Regions from separate parts of the Homo sapiens genome. Here region 2 is linked to region 1. The links are contacts of gene promoters, found by promoter capture Hi-C in human tissues and cell types (Jung and others, 2019). All regions are on one chromosome and are shown on one strand. Each heading gives the region's core, a stretch centred on a gene start or on the middle of the fragment in contact. The rest is flanking DNA. Distances are from core to core; before and after follow the strand shown. Region 1 holds the start of PSMG3 (proteasome assembly chaperone 3). Region 2 overlaps MAD1L1 (mitotic arrest deficient 1 like 1).

The links. The method cuts DNA at HindIII sites, captures the fragments that hold promoters and counts their contacts. A contact is called where the count stands out against the background at its distance.
Region 2: a contact is called between a fragment that was not itself captured here and the fragment with the promoter of PSMG3 in region 1, in 1 of the 25 tissues and cell types used here (spleen).

What each region holds. Positions count from the first base shown.
Region 1 is chr7:1,565,757-1,572,983 of GRCh38, forward strand. It overlaps PSMG3 (proteasome assembly chaperone 3), which reads right to left and starts at 4,276. Exons shown (of 2, transcript NM_032302.4): 1 at 3,368-4,276; 2 at 1,576-2,094. The coding sequence starts at 3,583. The coding sequence ends at 1,942. It overlaps PSMG3-AS1 (PSMG3 antisense RNA 1), which reads left to right and starts at 4,317. Exons shown (of 5, transcript NR_027329.1): 1 at 4,317-4,523. RefSeq lists enhancers at 1,162-1,730, 1,557-1,851, 4,006-4,574, 5,198-5,267, 5,278-5,327 and 1 more and silencers at 3,948-4,377, 4,818-4,897. The HindIII fragment of the contact is 18,965 bases long and covers 1-5,232 here.
Region 2 is chr7:2,030,146-2,037,104 of GRCh38, forward strand. All of the region lies in intron 12 of MAD1L1 (mitotic arrest deficient 1 like 1), which reads right to left. Among named protein-coding and RNA genes, the nearest start is that of SNORA114, 55 kb to the right of the region's middle. RefSeq lists enhancers at 1,267-1,948, 2,631-3,310. The HindIII fragment of the contact is 6,845 bases long and covers 1-6,155 here.

The DNA.
Region 1 (7,227 bases), core at 3,026-5,525:
GCGCTCCAGGCATGAGGCAGGCACCTGTAGTTCCAGCTACTTGGGTGGCTTGGCTGAGCATGGGAGGATGGCTTGAACCTGGGAGGTCAAGGCTGCAGTGAGCTGAGACTGCACCACTGCACTCCAGACTGGGCGACAGAGTGAGACCCTATCTCAAAAAAAAAGAAAGAAAAAGAAAATTGCAGGACTTCAGAAGCCATTAGAAATGAGTAGGGGTTAGGCTGGGTGCGGTGGCTCACACCTGTAATCCCAGCACTTTGGGAGGCTGAGGAGGGTGGATCATCTGAGGTCAGGAGTTCCAGACCAGCCTGAACAATATGGTGAAACCCGGTCTCTACCAAAAAATACAAAAAATTAGCCAAACGTGGTGGTGCACACCTACAGTCCCAGCCACTCGGGAGGCTGAGACTCATTTGAACCCGGGAGGCGGAGGTTGCAGTGAGCTGAGATTGCACCACTGCGCTCCAGCCTGGGTGACAGAAGGAGACTCTGCCTTAAAAAAAAAAAAAGAAACAAGCAGGGGTTCAGAATGGGGTAATAGGCGTGACAATTAAAAAAAAAAGAAGAAGAAGAAAAAGGAAAGAAATGAGCAGGATGCATGCCTGTGATCCTACCACTTTGGGAGGCTGAGGTGGCAGGATCACTTGAGGCCAGGAGTTCTGAGACCAGCCTGGGCAACACAGAGACCAGTCTCCATTTAAAAAAAAAAAAAAAGAAAGAAAAAGAAAAAGGGGAATATTCCTTTCTGATTCCACACACACCCTATGCCCGTTTGTTTACAGGTACCTAAGGCAGTAAACCCCCAACTCCCTGGAAGGGCCCACTGGGCGCTCACTTCGCTCCAGAGCCTCGCCTGGTTTCCGCTTCGGGATCCGGTCACCCAACCCAGCTCTCCAGTTGCTGCTGTTTCTCGTGAGACTGTCAGAGTGAAGGGGTCCAAAGCTCCGACTTCCAGCCTCAGAAATCCCAACTCAGGCAGGATCAGCGAAGCGTCCCTCGCAGTGGCTGGAGGGAGAGCCAGGCGGGGCCCAGGCTGCCACTTATCAGGGCTGTAAATGCCACCCTGAGGCCCACGCCTGCCAACACTGCTCCCCACAAGACTAAGTCCTGCAGCCTCAGCCCAGAAGGACCCGCGCCTACCCCCACACGGAGGTCATGTTCAGCCACACCCCAGTGAACCCTGGCGACCCACCCCACAGTGCCCTGCCCTCCCGTGCTCCTCTCTCCTGACCTCTGTGCACGCTGCTCCCTTGACAGAAGCGTCCCCCCTCCCTTGCTATGCAGGATTCAGAGGACAGCGTCTGTCCCCAGCTGCAGCACGGTAACGGGCACACACATTAAGATAGTAAGAGATGTCCGCTGACGGCCACCAGCTTCCCAGCAGGCTCAGAGAAGTTACTGGAGTTGGAGCTGGGTGACAGCGTGCACAGGCCCAAGCATGGGATCCACCCAGTTCCTGGGAACTACGTCCCTCTGCGTTTCTGCCCAACAAGCTTCCCTTCATGAAGCCCATGAAACTGAACTCATGCTGTGCGGCTGCAATGTCTCGCTACTGTTAAGGAGGACAGTGAAGTATTTTGGGATACACATTCGCTTTTAATAAAAAAGAAATTTCCTCCTACAATTGATCCTGCACACGGGGGGGCCATGAGCCACGCCTGCTGACTCATTCCTCCAATTCTCAAACACAAGCAACGATTCAGGTCCTGGTGAGAACCATTCACGACTCCTCCGGGACCTGTTCCACCCTCCCCGTCATGCACAGATGATCTTAGTAACCAGAGTAAGAGTCTGCCTGAGACACGAGTCTTTTTTCCTGGCTCCAAGGGCTAGTGCCAAAGTTCCTCCCTCCACCGGGGAGGGAGGTGAGACTTGAGTCCCTGAGTGGGTGTCTGGGTGTTCACGTGTCCTGCTGAGCAGCGCGGGGCGGCTGCCTCCAGGTCACCACACCTGGCACACCCGGATCACCTCCCTCAGCGCCTTCAGCCCCTCCATGCTTTTGTCCTTCACGGCCACGGCGAGGAGGACTGCTCTGTTTCCAGCTTCTTGAGACACAAACGCTACCAGGTTCTTTGCAAAGACATGGATGAGAGGCTGGTAAAGGAAGGAGAAGAAACCATTTTAACTGCAAGAAACCTGGTTTTTTCCTCAATGCTTTCATGAAGTATCCCTTAGGAACCCAGGCAGGCTTCCCACACCACCATTAACCGCCACATAAGTCCATGCAACTGTGACTCAGAGTTCTGGCAGCACTCAGAACACTCCAGTCACGGGCACACTGCTAAAGACCATCACTCCATTCATTTTCCCAGCGCCTTCCGCAGCCCCGCCTCTTCTGGCTCTCTCTCATCTAAAAGAACCCAGGAAAGAGAAGCCTGCAGAAGCGAGTGCTGTCGAATCTCACGTGTGATCTCCACAGAGCACAGCACAGCCAGCCGCCTGCTCACGTAATGTACCATGGCAGGGGAGGCGGCTCGAATGACAAAACTGCTGCTTCTGCTTGTCTGCTGGATAAAATGCCTGCGGGCTGGACAAAGCATCCACTGAGGGCAAGCAGGGCGCCTTGAGACCCACAAATGCCCGGAAAATGCTATCGCTGTAGGGGTATTTGTCCGCCAGATGCCCCATGTCCTTACTGACAAATCACAGCCACTGGAGAGGTTTATGCTCCTCCCTGGGGGTCCCTTCCTGACCACTTTATTATTATTATTATTATTATTATTATTAAAGACAGAGTCTTGCTCTCTCACCCAGGCTGGAGCGCAGTGGCACAATCATGGCTCACTGCAGCCTCAACCTCCAGGGCTCAAGCCATCCTCCCACCTCAGCCTCCCAAGTAGCTGGGAGCACAGGCACACACCACTAGGCCCAGCTAATTTTTTGTTTCCTTTTCTTTTCCTTTTTTTTTTAAGACCAAGTCTCTATCTGTTACCCAGGCTGGAGTGCTGTGGCACGATCTTAGCTCACTGCAACCTCCGCCTCTCGGGTTCAAGCGATTCTTCTGCCTCAGCCTCCTGAGTAGCTGAGATTACAGGCATGTGCCACCACACCCAGCTAATTTTTATATTTTTCGTAGAAATGGGGTTTCCCCATGTTGGCCAGGCTGGTCTGGAACTTCTGACCTTAAGTGATCTGCCCGCCTCAGCCTCCCAAAGTGCTGGGATTACAGGTGTGAGCCACTGCACCCAGCCTCTCTCTATATATATATTTTGTGTAGGCACTTGTTTTTTTGTAGTGACTTGTGTGTGTGTTGTTGTGTTGCCCAGGCTGGTTTCAAACTCCTGGCCTCAAGCGATCTGCCCGCCTAGGCCTCTGAAAGTGCTAGGGTTACAGGCGTGAGCCACAGTTCCCGGCCAATCCACTTTACCTCATCCTGCCCCAGAAGGACTTTTGTGGTGAGCACAGGCTTGCTGACGTCACTGGCCACGCTGCTGGGCTCCAGGGAGACCAGGGTGCCCATCTTCCCAAACTGGGTCACCACCACCAGGATGTGACTGCTGAAGGCCGTACACACCACCTGGGTGGGGACCCCGCACACCACCTCCGTCTTCTGCTTCGATATCACCAACGGCGTGTCTTCCATGGCGGGGCTCTGCAGTGGCAGCTTTAATTTAGGTTAAAAAGAAAGGGGAAAAAAAGGAGTCAATCAAACAGTACAGCCTTGGGGCTCCCAAAAAAGTAGCACGGGGCATTGAAACGGAAACGCAAGGAGGCCCATTCAAAAGAAGGGGCCAGGCGCGGTGGCTCATGCCTGTCATCCCGGCACTTTGGGAGGCCGAGACAGGACGATCGTTGAGGCCAGGAATTCGAGACCAGCCTGGCCAACATAGCGAGACCCCCATCTCTACCAAAAAAAAAAAAAAAAAAAACCAGCAGGGCGCGCCTGTGGTCCCAGTTACTCAGGAGGCTGAGGCGGGAAGATCGCTTCAGCCCGGGAGGTCGAGGCTGCGGTGAGCCGTGATCACACCATTGCATTACAACCCGGGCGGTAGAGCGAGACCCTGTCCGTAAAAAAATAAAACAGAAGCAGGAGCGGGGCCGCCCATAGAGACCGCGCCTGGGGCTTTCTGGGTTAGGGGATCGACTTGCACGTTCACACTGCCAGGCCGGGCAGTGGCTTCCCGCCCCTCGGCCTCGCCGCCGCCCCGGCCCTGCAGCCGCGGCCCGGGACCCCCACGACACGCGGTGCCGAGGCCGGCCGGGCTACTGGGGACGCAGCCGCCCGGGGAAGCCCGCGGGTACCCGCGCTCACCAAGCCGGCGCCGCGCCCGGAAGTGGCTCTGCGTGCGCCACGCGGGCCCGCCCCGTCCGCGGGTTCCGTCCACCTTCCGGAAGTCAGGGCCGCGGCGCTTCTGGTCCCGGAGACTTGGGGCTCCCGGGCTTCTGAGCGGCTCGGGTTCCGCGCTGCCGGCAGGGCTTGGGGGCGCCTTAGAGCCGAACCCCGTTTTTTCAGGAAAGGGCGCTGCGACCACCCCCGTCCCGGGCCTCAGCCCCTCTGCTGCAGACCCTCGGGATCGTCGCTGGTAGGAGCTCTGTCCCCCGTGTCTGTGTCCAGGACCCCCGAAGCGCCGCGCCTAGGAACCCCCTAGCGCTGGGAGCCCGGCCCTGCTCGACCACGGGCTTTGGGCTGGAGGCGTCATCGTCGCCACAGCGAACGCTTATTTGGCACCGAGTGTCCGCCAGGCATCGCTCTAAGCGCTTTATACCCATAACTCACTTCATCTCAGCCACCCGGTTCCGTAGAAGCGTTTCATCCGCGTTTTACAGACGTGTGCAGGTGCAGAGAGCTCGGCCAGGCTCAGGCGGCGGGCGGGCTGGGGTGGGCTCCGACCGTCCCTCGGGCGCTCCGTGACACGAAGCCCCGGCCAAGGCCAAGAAGGGGGCCAGCCCCACCCTGAAGCGGGATGAGTTCTGGTTCCTCCCAGGGACCCCCTCACTCCCTACTGCTCACTCTCAGTTTCTCCAAGCTGGAAGGTTTTTTGTTTTGTTTTGTTTGAGACGGAGTCTTGCTGTGTCACCCAGGCTGGAGTGCAGTGGCGCGATCTCGGCTCACTGCAGCCTCCGCCTCCCTGGTTCAAGCAATTCTCCTGCCTCAGCCTCCTGTGTAGCTGGGATTACAGGCGTGCGCCACCAGGCCCGGCTAACTTTTTAAATTTTTAGTAGAGATGGGGTTTCACCATGTCGGTCAGGCTGGTCTTGAACTCCTGACCTCAGGTGATCTGCCTTCCTCGGCCTCCCAAAGTGCTGGGATTACAGGCGTGAGCCACCGCGCCCCGCTGCTGGAAGTTTTATTGGTAGGGTCGGACATCTTGGTAGCAGAGGCTGAAAGTGATTGGAGCCTCCAGAGCCTTCCTCGGGGTGGGGCGTTTAACATCCCTTCAGAACCCCACCCTCGGAGGCCTTACTGTCGTTTCCTGACAACCATGTCAAGGCCGTATTTTCTGTCTATATTACCAGAAAGGGGTCCCGATCCAGACCCCAAGAGAGAATTGAGGGCGAGTCCACAAAGTGAAAGCAAGTTTATTAGAAAAGTAAAGGAATTGAGGCAGGAAAACAGGGTCTGGAGGCAGGGAACACTTCAGCTATGACAGGAAATACCCTCTCCATAGGGTGTACACTGAGTAAATGATTTTGTAACTTTATTTCATCCTCTTTATTTACATAGGGCGTACACCAAGTAACCAGTAGAAACCCCTAGAGGGTATTTAAACCTCACAAGTTCTGTAATGGGGCCCTGAGCCTCTATGCTTTGGCCGCCCCCACACCATGGAATGTACTTTCATTTTCAAAAAATTTCTGCTTTTGTTGCTTCATTCTTTTTTTGCTTTGTGCATTTTTTTTTTTTTGAGACAGAGTCTCTGTTGTCCATGCTGGAGTGCAGTGGCGTGATCCTCACTGCAACCTCTGCCTCCCGGGTTCAAGCAATTCTCCTGCCTCAGCCTCCTGAGTAGCTGAGATTACAGACGTGCGTCACCATGCCCGGCTAACTTTTGTGTTTTTAGTAGAGACGAGGTTTCGCCATGTTGGCCAGGCTGGTCTTGAACTCCTGACCTCAGGTGATCTGCCCGCCTCGGCCTCCCAAAGTGCTGGGATTATAGGTGTGAGCCACCGCGCCCGGTGGCTTTGTGCATTTTGTCCAATTCTTTGTTCAAGATGCCAAGAACCTGGACACCCTCCACCAGTAACAGAATAAAGAATGGCTACTCCATAGGCAGAGCAGCATGGGCTGCTGGTTGCCCATTTTTGTGGTTATTTCTTGATGATATGCTAAACAAGGGGTGGATTATTCGTGCCTTACCTTTTTAAACCCTTTAGGGTAACGTCCTGGCATTGCTATGGCATTTGTAAACTTACGGCGCTGGTGGGAGTGTAGCAGCTGGGACGACCAGAGGTCACACTCATCGCCATGTTGGTTTGGTGGGTTTTGGTCAGCTTCTTTACTGCAAACTGTTTTATCAGTAAGGTCTTTATGACCTGTAGCTTGTGCCGACCTCTTATCTCATCCTGTGACATAGAATGCCTTAACTGTCTGGGAATGCAGCCCAGCAGATCTCAGCCTCATTTTACCCAGCCCCTATTCAAGATGAAGTTGCTCTGGTTCAAACACCTCTGACATTTACACCACTGAAGCTCCAAGGAAGATCTTGACTCCCTCTTCTCACCATTTGATGACTTCGTATCCAATCCAAGTCAAGTCAAATGAAGCATGCTCCTTCCAATGATGATTTCTGGAGGCCTAAAATAAAAAGCATGCATACAGAAAATGATCAAAATAGACATAAATCAAGGGGAAATTCATTTTTGAGCATTCTTGCAGCCAGTACACAAAAGGAGAGATGATGAGTTTCATGGTTCTAATACTCAAAAAACAGGAAGCATATCAACTTCCCAGGAAAGTCTAAGTTTCTGTCGGCTCTAAATTTAAACACACATCCACCCACACATACCCCACAAGCAAATTGCCAGTGGATTGCTTTGCCATCTGAAATCTTCAAAAGGTTCACTCGCTTTTATTCACCTGTTTGTGTATTCTCCCTCTCTGTAGGCAAATAGATACAAGAAATCTGATCCTGTCCTCTCAAAGAAAACCCTCTGAAATAAACTTATCACCTTTAAAAAAGGGATGTTGAAGAACAAGATGGATTTTTGTTGTTGTTGTCGTTTTTTGAGATGGAGTCTCGCTCTTGTCGTCCAGGCCGGAATGCGGTGGTGCGATCTCGGCTCACT
Region 2 (6,959 bases), core at 1,483-3,982, 460 kb after region 1:
CCCCAGAAACGCGGAACCCAGAGCTGTGTACAGGTGCATGTCCGCTACGCCCCGCCCCGCGCTCCACGGAAGGTCCACACACAGCCTGAGGAGGTTCCCCCAGCCCACAGTGACGCCCGGGGTGGAGGTCACAAAGTTTTCAGAGTCATCCAAACTCATTACCTTGCTAACTGGGTAAAAAGTCCAGTTCAATGGATGGTGACTGAATTAGAGGGCGATTGTAACAGAATGCAATTCTACTATTAATAATTTCCGTATAGCAGCTCGAACAAAGCACTGACAAAGTGTCACCAAATGCATTTCTTGCTTCACTTCTTTCATGAACAGATAAGGCTAATTCACTTGCTTACGCTAATTAGAGCCTGTTACACGCGGGCCCCTGAACAGCCTTGATGTGCAGAGGCCCCTGGGTAAGCCAGGGCGCCAGTGACAGGTGGCCGGACCCCGCAGGAGTGGAACCTGCCCATCTGCGCTTGACGAAAATGCCTCCAAAACAAACCAGACGCCGCCCCGGCAGAGGAAACTGAGAATGAGGAGAAACGGTCTCTTTTCCCGATGAAAGGGTTCTCTGTAATGGGCACCAATGACCAGGTTTTGAAGGGCAATACTGTGGGTCAGCGAGGGTTTCCGGGGCCCCGTGGGAGGCGCCCTGCTGTCAGACGCGTTTCTGTCCTCCTCAGCCCCCAACCTGCGCCTGGTGCTCTCGGCCAACCTTGCTCAGAGCTTGATGATACCATGTCTCTCCCTTGTTCCCATTCCATCCTCTCTGTTCTTCCTCATTTTTGCCTCAAGTTCCACAAGTCTCATTACAAGGTTATCTTATCTGACCAATAAACCCGGTTTACTGTTGACAAAGCTCTATTTCTGCTGGGCGACTGGATTCGGAGGAGCCCCCAGGAGAAAAAACGGTCCCCAGCCTTCAGCAGCATCCTCCCTCCAGCAGCCAGCTGTGCATTCTCCATGAACTGCACCTACGCGAGCTCTCCTGAAGGCAGCAGGAGGCTGAACACCAGGCCGCTCAGAGAGGAAGCACGGGGTCCTCTCCCACTACTCACCCCTCTGCCTGCAGCTGCACCAGGCACACAGAGCACGCTCCCTTCCCTGCCCCACAGCTGTCTTGGGGTTACCCTCAGCCAGCTCCTCCTCTGGCTTCCTGCCGTCACACCCTCCCCACTGGCCTCCACCACCCACGTGTAGCTGTGGGGGAGGGGGAAAAGGGGCTGTTCTGGGCTCCCCACCAGCAAGCCTGGTTTTTACAATTTCAACCTCTGATAAAAAGCTCTACAACACCTATTGTAGGAAGGAGTGGAATCAATTATGATTTCCCGAGGCAATTTTACTTACATTTCACACTGCTCTATGACAAATTCCACTTCATTTGTGTTCGCTGTATAAATGCATTCCCCAGCATCCACCTGAACCAGCACCAGCCTTGTTACAGCAGCTGCTCACACCTGCGCTATGACGACGTGGGTGCCGTGCACATCTGGGAGGGCACTGGGACCATCCTGACAGGAAGCCATACCCAAGCCACAGTGGCTGCAGACGGCCCCTCACCAGGGAGGAGGACGTGACCCTCGCAAGGTCTCGCCAGCATGCCTGACCCACGCGGATATGGGGCCATGGGCCTGAGACAGGCCCTGTGCCGCATGGCTCTATTTTGAGTGCAGTTTATTTGACAGGACAGGGAGAAAGGAGAGCAGGGCAACGTGGGAAACAGACAGCACAGTGGAGTCACGGCTCTGGGGCCACTACTCAGCCTGAGCAGTCAGACGGGTTCCTTTCCTCTCTAGGCCTCCAGCGTTCCTATCAGCAAAACAGGGAATTAGATGGACTTGGTCTTCTACAGTTCAAAAATCTTACAGTGCTGCAAAGTCTAGGTGGCTTTCTCCACCGACGGGTAACAGGCAGGCAGCCAGTGCCCAGGGTGCCAGGCACACTCCGGGCCTTGTGCCAAGGAGTTTCCATGCATCAGCTCCCTGACCCCTCATTCATGCGGGACGCCCGGCCCCAGTCCCTGTCCAGTGCCTGGAACAGAACAGGTGCTCAGGAACTGTGTGTTCAATTAAAAAATGAACGAGTGAAACCATCAGCCAATCAGTCCTCGGAACCACCTCCTGAGGCAGGCTGGAGTCCTCCCTTTCAGATGAGGACAAGGCTCCAGGGGAAGGCGCGCGCCCCAGGTCTCCAGCCTCCGTGAAGCCGAGCCTGGGCTCTTGGCCATCATGCTAACGGGCAGGTGGGAAAGCGCTTGCCCAGCCCTGGGCTCTAATAGCTACCTAAAGCCCCCGGGCAGCAGTGACCCCACGAGTCCTGAAAAGATTTGGTGCACATCCATGGCCAGGGGCAGGCCATTACCCAAACAGCTCTGACATCAGGGTCCTTCCTCAACTGAAAGCTCATCTCAGCTGGGGAGAGCTGGCCTTGCCTTCGTCTCCTTCAGAGCTGTGCTGGGCTGAGTGGGGCCAGAAATCAGCATGAGGAGAATTCAAAACAAGATGACTCGCCCATGGGAAGTACCTCCCACCAGGCTCGAGGGACCCTGTGCTGCTTCTGGCATTTTGAATTCGCGCCCAGGGCTGTGGGCTCCCACCAGGGTCAGGCCAGCTCCTAGCAAGTGGTGAGGGGGGTGGCGCCGGCCTGCTCTCCCAGAACTCAGCCTGGAGAGGGAGGCAGACGTGAGCACTGTAAGAACAGGCGAGGACAGGCAGGGCACTCAGGGAGCCCCACACCAGGAAGGAAGACCCACTCTGCACACAGGGAGAGTGTGCATGGGGCAGGGGGGCAAGGCGCCCCCGCAGAAGGACGTGGAGAGGGCACCAGCTGAGAAGATGCCCCCAGCCCACTGGTATCACGTGTCTACTGCCTTCTTGGGGTACAGCAGCGTGGGCTGAGGACACCCAGCTGACGCTGCCACTGACTGGCCATGATAAACAGACGCAGAACTCCGAGAGCTCACGCTCCCAGCCCAGCACCCCACTCATACACTCGCCAGCCAGGCACCACGTGCCAGGCCCTGTGCTGGCCAGGAGGTGGGCCCTTCGATCATCCCATTCTCACAGAGACAGCCCGGGTGCTGCAGGTGTGAGTAACGCACCCCGGGGGCACAGAACACCTGGGTGCGGAGCCCCAGTTTGAACCAGCCCAGATGACCCGGTCACCCCTGCCCTCGCCTGCTTCACTGCACTAGAACTAAAGGAAACAAGATGGATACTCCATGGAGCAAGGCCCTGAAAGGCTGTGGGCCCCGAAGCAGTGGAAGGAATGACAGAGAAAGACCAGCACGCTTCGCCACACCAACACCTCCGTGGGTCCCAAAACGCCACTTAAAAACACAAAAGGTAAAAGACAAACTGGGGAAAACGTGCCACAAATACATGAAAACCTTTTACAAATCAATAGGAAAATCACTAACACGGTAATAGAAAACTGGGAAAAATCAACAATCAACAGAAGAAACGTAACTGACAAACACAAAATTCATTAAGACCCGTTCCTCACCTGGAGTGGCAAGAAGTAAAATGCTAACACTCAGCACGAGTGAGGCCATGAGGGCTGCACGCTACACCTGCTGGGACAGCAGTCACGGGCGCTTCTGGAAAACGAGTCAGCAAAACTGGCCAAGGGTCCTGAAGGTGTTCACACCCTTCCACTCAGTAACAATTGCCTAAAAAGTAATCAGACTGCGGTGGCTCACACCTGCAATCCCAGCACTGTGAGAGGCCGAGGCAGGAGAATCACCTGAGACCAGCCTGGGCAACATAGTGAGACCCCATCTCTACAAAAAAAATTTTTTTTTAATTAGCCAGGCGGGGCGGCATGCACCTATAGTCCCAGCTACTGGGGAGGCTCAGGCAGGAGGATATATTGAGCCCTGGAGTTCAAGACTGCAGTGAGCCAAGATGGCGCCACCACATTGCAGCCTGGGCGACAGAGCAAGACCCTGTGTCTAAACAAATAAATAAATAACAAATGAATCAGATATGGGGAAAGCACTGAGTCCAAGGATGTTGCACACATTAGCAATAATCATGAAAAAATTAAAAACAAAGCTAAATTTCCAATAAAGAGTCTCCTTTTTTTTTTTTTTGGAGACGGAGTCTCGCTGTCGCCCAGGCTGGAGTGCAATGGTGTGATCTAGGCTCACAGCAACCTTTGTCTCCCGGGTTCAAGCGATTCTCCTGCCTCAGCCTCCTGAGTAGGTGGGACTACAGGCACACACCACCACGCCCAGCTAATTTTTTGTATTTTAGTAGAGACGGGGTTTCACCGTGTTGCCCAGGCTGGTCCGAACTCCTGAGCTCAGGCAATCCACCCGTCTCAGCCTCCCAAAGTGCTAGGATTACAGGCATGAGCCACCGCAGCCGGCCAAGAGTTTACTTTTGGTATGTCTACACGAAGAAACATCGTACAGCCAAAAAAGATTTTATTTTCAAGGAATGCTTAATGGCACAGGCACTGGCTGCAATAAAATGTCACAAGTGCAGGAAGCACACAAGGCTGCCAGCTCTGCCACAGCAGTCCCCACACTCGGCTGCCTCCATGGCACCTGCGCACGTGGGTGTCCGTGAGTGCTTACTGGTTGGCTGATAGATTGGCTGAATGAATGAACAGGGGAGGAAAGGAGAGAAGGGAGACGTGGAGATGAAATGCATGCCATGTTCTTGGTGCTACCTCTGGGTGCAGGAGTCAAGGTCTTTTTCAATGGCCTCTTTATACTTTTTGATCAGTCCCCAAGCTTTGCACATGTCCAGTGTCACAGTCAAAGAGGGCTGCATGTTTTAAGAGTCCAGTGGTCAGAGCACTCACACCCATGTACTCCGCAGACCCAAACCTGAGGCCCAGCAGCACAGGGGGCCACAAGTCCACACTGGGGCTGGCCCCACAGAGGCGGGAGCTCAGGGAGGGACACAAACTCCACAGGGAAGCCAACAACAGATGCCTCATTTCTGAATAAAGAAATGCCAGACACGATGTGGGAGAAAAGGAAACCAGGCAGCCCAGAGGGGCCACATGACCCCACAGACAACCCCAGGGACACGCAGACCACACACAGCCCAAGGACACGCTGAGAAATGTAAACCGGAGTCCAGGCTCCCAGGCATGAGCGCGGGAGCGCTGACAAGTCGGGACAGAGCTGGGGTCCAGGCTCCCAGGCATGAGCGCAGGAGCACTGACAAGTCGGGACAGAGCTGGGGTCCAGGCTCCCAGGCATGAGCGCGGGAGCACTGACAAGTCGGGACAGAGCTGGGGTCCAGGCTCCCAGGCATGAGCGCGGGAGCACTGACAAGTCGGGACAGAGCTGGGGTCCAGGCTCCCAGGCATGAGCGCGGGAGCACTGACAAGTCGGGACAGAGCTGGGGTCCAGGCTCCCAGGCATGAGCGCGGGAGCACTGACAAGTCGGGACAGAGCTGGGGTCCAGGCTCCCAGGCATGAGCGCGGGAGCACTGACAAGTCGGGACAGAGCTGGGGTCCAGGCTCCCAGGCATGAGCGCGGGAGCACTGACAAGTGGGGACAGAGCTGGGGTCCAGGCTCCCAGGCATGAGCGCGGGAGCACTGACAAGTCGGGACAGAGCTGGGGTCCAGGCTCCCAGGCATGAGCGCGGGAGCACTGACAAGTCGGGACAGAGCTGGGGTCCAGGCTCCCAGGCATGAGCGCGGGAGCACTGACAAGTCGGGACAGAGCTGGGGTCCAGGCTCCCAGGCATGAGCGCGGGAGCACTGACAAGTCGGGACAGAGCTGGGGTCCAGGCTCCCAGGCATGAGCGCGGGAGCACTGACAAGTCGGGACAGAGCTGGGGTCCAGGCTCCCAGGCATGAGCGCGGGAGCACTGACAAGTCGGGACAGAGCTGGGGTCCAGGCTCCCAGGCATGAGCGCGGGAGCACTGACAAGTCGGGACAGAGCTGGGGTCCAGGCTCCCAGGCATGAGCGCGGGAGCACTGACAAGTTGGGACAGAGCTGGGGTCCAGGCTCCCAGGCATGAGCGCGGGAGCACTGACAAGTGGGGACAGAGCTGGGGTCCAGGCTCCCAGGCATGAGCGCGGGAGCACTGACAAGTCGGGACAGAGCTGGGGTCCAGGCTCCCAGGCATGAGCGCGGGAGCACTGACAAGTCGGGACAGAGCTGGGGTCCAGGCTCCCAGGCATGAGCGCGGGAGCACTGACAAGTCGGGACAGAGCTGGGGTCCAGGCTCCCAGGCATGAGCGCAGGAGCGCTGACAAGTCAGGACAGGGGAGGACGATGCATTCCTGCGCCACCTCCGTGCGGGGAACCAGAGCTCCAGCCTGAATCCCTTAGGGTTGGCTCAGAGTCCTCTCTGGATGAAGTGTCTAGTCTGAGGAGGACAATCCATCCGGTCGTGAGTTTGGACTCTTCCTACACACAAAGGCCAATATATCAAAATTAAATCCCACGGAAGCCCAGGTTGTCACTGGAGAGCATTCCCCAAGCTCCAGGCAGTGGTAAATCAGAGGCCTGAATCCACTGTGGGCCCTCTTTTGAACAGAAGACAAAAGGAAGAGCTTACCCCTAAAGGCAACCCAGCAACCCAGACGTGTGCCTGTCCCACCTCCCCAAGGCCAGGGCTCCTGATCAGAGGTGCTGTAAAGACTCAACAGCCCTGGCAGTACAGGGAGCCCAAGCAGGTGTCGGAAATGACACTGGGTACCTAGAATCCTAAGAACTAAGCTGTCTACAGATGCAGACCAACCAGGTGGGAGGTGGTCAGCTAGATCCCACCAACGCCACTCATACCCACCAACGCGCACGAGGCACGCTCCGCCTCCTGAACACTCCTCCCAGGGCTCCTCCAGCACTCCTCCCACAGCTCCCCCCACAGCACGAGCTTCCGCGTGCCCACCCACGCGCAGAAGACCTCCACCTGCCGCATGCTCCTCCCACAGCTCCCCCCACAGCATGAGCTTCCACGCGCCCACGAAGGTGTCCAGCCATGCAG